2 separate regions of the Homo sapiens genome follow, and region 1 is linked to region 2. Evidence: promoter capture Hi-C in human tissues and cell types (Jung and others, 2019). All regions are on one chromosome and are shown on one strand. The core of a region is centred on a gene start or on the middle of the fragment in contact, and the rest is flanking DNA. Distances in the headings are between cores, read along the strand shown.

What was found. The method cuts DNA at HindIII sites, captures the fragments that hold promoters and counts their contacts. A contact is called where the count stands out against the background at its distance.
Region 1: a fragment that was not itself captured here is called in contact with the fragment with the promoter of RBP1 in region 2 in 1 of the 25 tissues and cell types used here (dorsolateral prefrontal cortex).

The regions. Positions count from the first base shown.
Region 1 is chr3:139,922,242-139,926,263 of GRCh38, reverse strand. No RefSeq gene overlaps it. Among named protein-coding and RNA genes, the nearest start is that of CLSTN2, 11 kb to the left of the region's middle. The HindIII fragment of the contact is 5,320 bases long and covers 74-4,022 here.
Region 2 is chr3:139,537,346-139,541,470 of GRCh38, reverse strand. It overlaps RBP1 (retinol binding protein 1), which reads left to right and starts at 1,729. Exons shown (of 4, transcript NM_002899.5): 1 at 1,729-2,011; 2 at 2,512-2,690. The coding sequence starts at 1,753. The region is part of intron 3 of COPB2-DT (COPB2 divergent transcript); the gene reads right to left. RefSeq lists an enhancer at 2,654-3,853. The HindIII fragment of the contact is 8,428 bases long and covers 1-4,125 here.

The DNA.
Region 1 (4,022 bases), core at 1,484-3,983, 380 kb before region 2:
TTTCCTTTACACTCTTCATAGAAATTCACTAGATGCCTGTATCATCAAAGTGCTTAAAACAGGTCTGTAATTAATAAATTATTTAAATATTTAAGCTGTCACTCAAAAGTGAATATGATATCTAGACATTCTTAGATACCCCGTGCTCATTTAAAACCAACAGGCCATCATGAAAGAAAACCTTAAGATGAAAGAAGGCATCGTGAACAACAAAGATATATTGATCTAAACAAGATTTAAACAAAATTAAAATAAGAGTTAAATAATGAGTAATTTGCATGGGATGTAAGCAAAATAGGAACAAAATACTAGACAAAAGTAACATGAAAACTAAAATAGAGGGATCAAGATTAAAATATCCTAGGTTCCATATATTGTTCAAAAGGAGAGTAAAGATATAGAATACTTTCAGACTTTTCTCATGCAAGTGTTCTTGTCAAGATTTTAAGGGTGAACAGTTAAAGATTAGATAGAGAACAAATAGTTTCCAAAAAATCAAGAAGAAGAGGGGAATGAAAGGAAACCCATCCAATAAATGATAGTAAAGGAATAAAACGTGAAGAATAGAAAAGCAGGTTTATTAGAACAAAATAAATTGATATGATAAGTTCCTATGTACCACACTAAAAAGGGAAGGATTAGACTTATGTATTAATAATAGAGATTCTGAAGTTAGATATATTTTAATGCTATCATATGTTTGCAATTGGCACACTGAAAATATAAGTACACAGAAAAGTTGAAATGTACAATGTATATGTGAGTATGCATATATATTTACATATGTATTATATTGTGTATACACATATATGTGTGTGTGTATACATATATATAGATCATAAGTGTTGCTTTTTATTTTCACATAAAATAAAATTTAAGGCAAAAAAGTTCTAAAATTAATGAGGATCACTATATAAAGGTAAAATGTTCAATTTGTCAGAAAGACATAACAGTTCTAATCCTCCATGCACTTAGTAACATAATCTCAAAATATACAGAAAAGCAAAAATTTACAGAATAAAAGACTCACAAATTCACAGTCATAATAAAAGATGTTAATGTACTTCATTTTGCAATGTATGGACCAAAACAATAAACGTTAGTAACAATAGAGACAATTTGAACAACACTATTAACAACTGCTCAAATGGACAAATTTAAACCTAGCAATTAACAATTAAAGGAAACAATTTATCTTCAGGCACAAGTTAGCTATTTATAAAGTACATCTCAACAAATACTAAGGAATCTCTATTATGTAGACAATATTTTTGTTACTATTATACCAAAATACAATTAATAACAATTTTTAATATGCACATATTTGGAAATTGAGGGGAAAATCTTCTACATGGCCAATAGATAAAAGAGAAAGTAAAAATACAAATTAGAAAACATTTAGAACTGAACAACAGTGAAAATACTACATATCAACACTTACAGAATGAAGCTGAATGGAATTTAGAAATAATAGCCTTTAATGCTTATCTTAGAAAATAAGAAAGTCTGGGGAATTTTCTGTTGAGTATCCCAGACAAAAAGTCATAAAATGAACAACAATAGTTCTTAGGATTGTGTGATATTGCTAAAGCAATAGAAAAATAGAGAAATGGAACAGAATAGATAACTTGGAAATAGAAACATACTTGTATAAATACTTAATGTATGCTTAGAAGTCAATGAAGGAAAAGATGGACTACTCTATCAATGGTAATAAAATCATTTCAATGGAACAATGGCTTAATCTGAAAAATACAAAATTATAAGTTTTAGAAAAAATATTAGTAGAATATTTGTATGACTTAAAAGTAAGAAAGAATTTCTTAAACACAAAAGGCACAAATCATGAAGAAAAGTATTGATATATTCAACACATCAAAATTAAGAAATTTTGTTCATCAAAAGACACCAAAAATAAAGGGAAATAGAAAGCCATGAGGTGAAGATTGATATCTGTGACTCTTGTAACTAACAAAGGATTGGTCTCACATATATGAAGAATTTCTACGAATCAGTAACAATAAACAATTAAGAAAAAAGGGGAAATTTATAAACTGGCAATCCATAAAAAATAAGTCTGATAGGAAAATGCACAAGAAAAAAATGTTCAATATTATAGGTCATTGGGGAAATAAAAGTTAAAAATAACAGCAAAATACTATTTCACACTTAACAAATTAGAAAAGTTTTAAAAGTCTAATAATACTATATATTAGCGAGAATAAGGAGCAATGGGACTATTTATACACTGCTAATGGAAATATAATTGGTACAACCACTTTAGACAGCATGAGATAGAATCTACTAAAACTGAATATGCACATACTCTGCAACCTAGTATATTAATTTCCTAGTGCTGCCGTAACAAAGCACCACCACCAACCAGCTGGTTTAAACAATAGAAATTTATTCTGTCACAGTTCGGGAGGCTAGATGTCCAAATTCAAGATGTCAGTTGTGTGGTGCCTTCCGAAGCCTCTAGAGGAAGACCCTTCCTTGCCTTTTCTGGCTTTTAGTAGCTCTGGATGTTTGCGGGCTGGAGGCAGCATAATCTCCACCTCAATCTTCACATTGCATTCTCCTTGTGTCTCTGTATCTTTACACTGCCATCTTCTTAGACAAACACCAGTCATATGAGATTAGGAGCCACCCTACTTCAATGTGACCTCATCTTAACTGAACTAAATACATCTGCAATGACTGCAGTCAGCCCTCAATAGCTGTGGGGGCTGTAGGTTCCACGTCTGTGGATTCAACCAACAGCTAATTGAAATATTTGAAAGAAAAAAAAAAAGCATCTGTAGTAAACACGGATAGATGTTTTTTCTTGTCATTCTTTTCTTTTCTTTTCTTTTTTTGAGATGGAGTTTCACTGTTCGTGCCAGACTGCAGTGCAATGGCGTGTTCTCGGCTCACTGCAACCTCCACCTCCCGGGTTCAAGCAATTCTCCTGTCTCAGCCTCCCAAGTAACTGGGATTACAGGCACGGGCCACCATGCCCAGCTAATTTTTGTATTTTTAGTAGAGATGGGATTTCACCATGTTGGCCAGGCTGGTCTCGAACTCCTGACCTCAGGTGATCTGCCCACCTCGGCCTCCCAAAGTCCTGGGATTACAGGCATAAGCCTCTGCACCCAGCCCTTGTCATCATTTTCTAAACAATACAGTGTAACAATGAACTACATAACATTTTATTTCACTGTACTCTAGAGATGATTTAAGGTACATGGAAGGACATACGTAGGATAGGCACAAACACTATGCCATTTTATATAAGGGACTTGAGCATCCATGGATTTCTGGCATCCATGAGGAGTCCTGGAACCAATCACCCATGGATACTGTGTGACAACTGTATTTCCAAATAAGGTCATATTCTGAGGTACTAGTTTTTGGAGGACAAAATGTTACCCATAACATCTAGCCATAACTACTAGTTATACATATTTAAAATATACCCATGCACATGAAAACATATGTAAATGTTTGTTGCAGCATTTTTCATAATTATGAAAATATAAAATATAAACCTTTAACAGAAGATAAGTTTATAAATTATGATATATATTTAATGGAATATTAAATTAAATCAAATAGAATAAAACTAAATTAAATTTAATGAAATAGAAATTCTCCCATCACATGGGGAAACCAAAATACATAATGACAAACATAAAATAAAAGTTGGAAATTTTCTGTTTCAACAGAGTGATAGATTAGATATTAAAATAATGGACAAAATAGAGAAGTTTTAAACACATTCCTGAGCTGATGCAAAAATAAGGATTCCGCAAAATCTAAAATTAAGTGAAACCGGAAACACCGGGAAGTGTGTGAGCACCAAAGCTGGTTTTGCCGTTTGTGGTTTTTTAATTGGCACATAATGTTTGTACATATTTCTGGGGTACATGTGATATTTTGTTACATGCATAGAACATGTAATAGTCAAATTAGAATATTTAAGATATCCAGCACAGTGAGCATTTATTAGTTCTGTGTTGGGAAGATTTCAAATCCTCTCT
Region 2 (4,125 bases), core at 480-2,979:
GAAGGACTGGGATAGGTTGCCCTGAGTGCCCAGCCAAGATGAGCCCTGGGCTGGCTAGGGAGGGACACAGAGCCAGTGCTTGTGTGAACAACTGATGACCTAACCATCCAGAGCCAGACAAAGAAGCAGTGGGAAACAAGGGCCTAGAGCTGGCTCTCAACCAGGGCTGGTTTACCCAGCACCCACACCCCAGTGCCTTTGACAATGTCTGGCGACATCTTTGTGTCTGGGTGCCACTGGGATCTAATGGGTAGAGGCCAGGGATGCCACTAAATATCCTACAGTACACAGGACAGGCTCCTGTAACAAAGACTTATGTGGCCTAGAATGTCAGTAGCACAGAGATTAAGAAACAAATCCTAGTCTAGGGAAAGAGGGTGAGAAGCGCTGAAATCCAAGTTGCTGCCTGGGAGGAAGCTGTCTCTACCCTGAGGAAGAGGCTCCTTTTCCTAATTCAGCCTGCACTGTGAGAACACATGTGAGCCCCAGGGAGGCACCCTGGGGAAGGTGGTGCTAGAGGGGAAGAAAATGTTATCTGCTGTCACTTAGGCTGTGATTTGTGCAAAAAGCGATTTAAAAGAGGTAGTCAAAAAGAGGGTCAAAAAGTCAGCCCATGTGATTATGTCATCTACTTGGTGGCAAATGCAGTTAAACCACAATGACATACCCACGCAGGTGACAAAGGAGATGTGATCAAAGATTTTCATTGCAGTACTGCTTTTAATAGTGAAAGATCAGAAACAATATAGTTTGTCCATCAGGGGACAAGCTGGATAAGCAATGGAATACTCCGTAAAATAATGGGGATACTTTCTATGTACAGCTATGGAAAAGTCTCCAGAATATATTAAGTGAATAAAGCAAAGTCCAGAACACCGTGGAGTACAGTGCTGCCATTAGGTGAAACGGGAGGAAACATTAATAAACAGTATATTGCTTACATTTGCATAAAGCAGCAGTGGATCTCAAAGTTGATTGTGCATCAGAATCACCCAGAAGGCTTTTTTAGCCACATGCACTTCAAATAACATCAACTATTTTACTTATTTATTTATTTATTTATTGAGCCAGAGTCTCACTCTGTCGCCCAGGCTGGAGTGTAGTGGCACGATCTCGGCTCACTACAACCTCCTCCTCCCGGGTTCAAGCTATTCTCCTGCCTCAGCCTCCCGAGTAGTTGGGACTACAGGCGCCCGCGACCACGCCCGGCTAATTTTTTGTATTTTTAGTAGAGACGAGGTTTTACCGTGTTGCCCAGGCTGGTGTCGAATTCCTGACCTCAGGTGATCCGCCCGCCTCGGCCTCCCAAAGTGCTGGGATTACAGGCGTGAGCCGCCGTGCCCGGCATCCTTTCTTTTATTTTCGGGAGAGACGTGGAAAGTGCCCCAATTTTCTCGCCCGTAGTTGAACCTCCCAGCTTTCCTGACCCCAGCCACCACCGGCGCGAGGCTTTAGACAAAGGCCTGTAAGTGGCCTCTTTCCTTAATCACGCCAGCACAAACCCCAGGAGATTGTTTCCCAACTCCCGAGTGGCTGCTGAGTGTGAGAAGTTAATGGCGTTTGAAGGAAATCCCCAGCAGCCGAAGAGTTCGGCCAACAAAGCAAACGTCCCGTCTCCGGTCTCCTCTTCCTTTGTAGGGGAAACGAACTGAACGTCTGAAACGAAGGTGGCGCGGCCTGGACAAACCTGACCCTTCGACATCCCCCGCCCCTGCGCCCGCCCTCGCTAAGCGGGGAGGAGCGACCGCTACAATGGATCCTCCCGCAGGCTTTGTGCGCGCTGGGAATCCAGCTGTCGCCGCCCCGCAGAGCCCCCTGTCCCCGGAGGGCGCTCATTTCCGGGCCGCCCACCACCCGCGTAGCACCGGCAGCCGCTGTCCCGGCAGTCTCCAGCCGTCCCGCCCGCTTGTGGCCAACTGGCTCCAGTCACTCCCCGAAATGCCAGTCGACTTCACTGGGTACTGGAAGATGTTGGTCAACGAGAATTTCGAGGAGTACCTGCGCGCCCTCGGTAAGCGCTGCCCGCTGCGCCCTGGGCGCCCCGCCGAGCAGCTCCGGGCCGCTCCCTAGAGCCCTCCCGAGACGCTGCCTGCCTGCCTCCATCCCGGCGAGCCGCGGTCCGGTGCCCCCGGACGCCAGAAAGGGCGTCCTCGGCCACCGCTCCCAGGGCAGCCCCCAGGCTGCAGATTGGAGAATTCGGGGTTGTTAGGTTAACCGGTGGCAAATGTCTGCTCGTTGGCCCTGGAGGTGGGTAATTTCATTAGTAAATCTGGGGCTTGGTTTGCTACTTTTTGTTTTTAAACGGTTAACATAAGAGCAGAAAACTTTGTTGGGGGCGGCAGGGGAGGCACAGGCAGGCTGTGCGCAGAGACAACGCAAAGCCAGCGGGAACCCTAACAGTGTTCGCGGGCGGAGAGGGCTCCTGGGGCCCCGCTACCTTGGGAACGGTTCTCTGAGTTTCCCTGCCAACTCTCTGGCGCTCTCTCTCTCCCCGTTCAACCCCCACCGCAGACGTCAATGTGGCCTTGCGCAAAATCGCCAACTTGCTGAAGCCAGACAAAGAGATCGTGCAGGACGGTGACCATATGATCATCCGCACGCTGAGCACTTTTAGGAACTACATCATGGACTTCCAGGTTGGGAAGGAGTTTGAGGAGGATCTGACAGGCATAGATGACCGCAAGTGCATGGTGAGGATTCGCGTCCACCTGGTGTCTCCTGCCCAGGGGGCCTGACCAAGGGCTGGGCTAGTTCATCCGAGAGGGGGCAAGGGCCTGAGGGACTGAAAACTCTTCCCACTCTCAGCCCCCATGGTGGGCAGCACCAACTCATGAAGCATCCTGCTCTATCTACACTGGAAGGTGATGGTTATGAAGGCTGCCATGTGCTGTGTCTCCACTGCGTTCAGGCACTCTGCCCGGTGCTTTATGCACATGACTTCACCTAAGCCTCACACAGCCTTTGAGGGAGATATGAATATGCCCATTTTACAGATGAAGAAACAGTCTCAAAGAGATGAAGTAACATGTCCAGAGTAGCACAGCTAGGGAGGGTCTGGAGTTCAAAGCATGTCTGTTGATGCCGTTCTCTGGCTGACTGGGCTGGTGGAGGGTAAAAGAAAAGAAAGGAGGAAAGAAAAAAGAAACACAGGTAACCCCTTTGAAGTGTAAACTTTCAGTATGACTTAGTGTGAAGTCACTCCAGGAAGCTGGGGGCCCCTTGATCTCTGCTGGAAGCCCCCTGATCTGCCCATCCTTGCCCCAGAGCTGGGATTTGGCTCCTGGCCATCCCCTGCCCCACCCTGTCATCCAATGCCTACTGAGCATTCTTTGAACTTTGCAGCTGACACCTATTCAGTAAGTCAGGGCCCCTCCAGCCCAGACCAGAGGAAACAGCAGTGGGGGAAGAGGGAGGGCCAAGAGCTCCCTTCCACAAGGGTGGGAAACTCCTGACCCAGGACATCCCAATTAGTACTGCCACAGCAGATGCCGGAAGGCCAGCCCCAGGCCTCCATCAACATTATCTGGTTGCTGGGAGGTCAAGGTACTCTTGTTCTCCCTTTATAGTCTTGGGTTCAGAAGTGGCTTATGTTCATCCCAGGAGCCACCTTGCTTATTGATGGGGTCCTCACCCACCACCTCCCACCATTTACCAAGGGTCTTTACCGCTGGTCTGCTGTGTGTCCAGCACTGTGCTAGTCATCTTACAGCACAGCACAGTGAGGGAGGGATAAGTAACCCCATGTTATGCAGTGACTGAGGCTCAGACAGAGGAAGAGACTTGTAAGAGATGAGACTTGAGCCCTGGGCCTTCTGATGTTGAAGCCCACAGTCCTGCTTTCTGCCAGCTTCTCTGCTGGTAGTCTGTGCAGAAACAAGATAGCTGAGGTCTGTTAGGATTGTAGTTGAAGGGATGCCCATGTCTGGGAATAGGCATCTGGAGCCTGGATGACTCATCCCCCCACCTTGTCTATTCATCTGAAGGCAGTCAGGATTGGTATCTGAGTCTGCTGTTTGGAATGATGGGAAAGAGGGGGTAGTCAGCAGGGAGTGGCCTTGGAAGGACCACTAATGGGAGAAAACACCATTGTTGCAGAGAAATGTCAGGTTGTGCCTTTAAAAATCT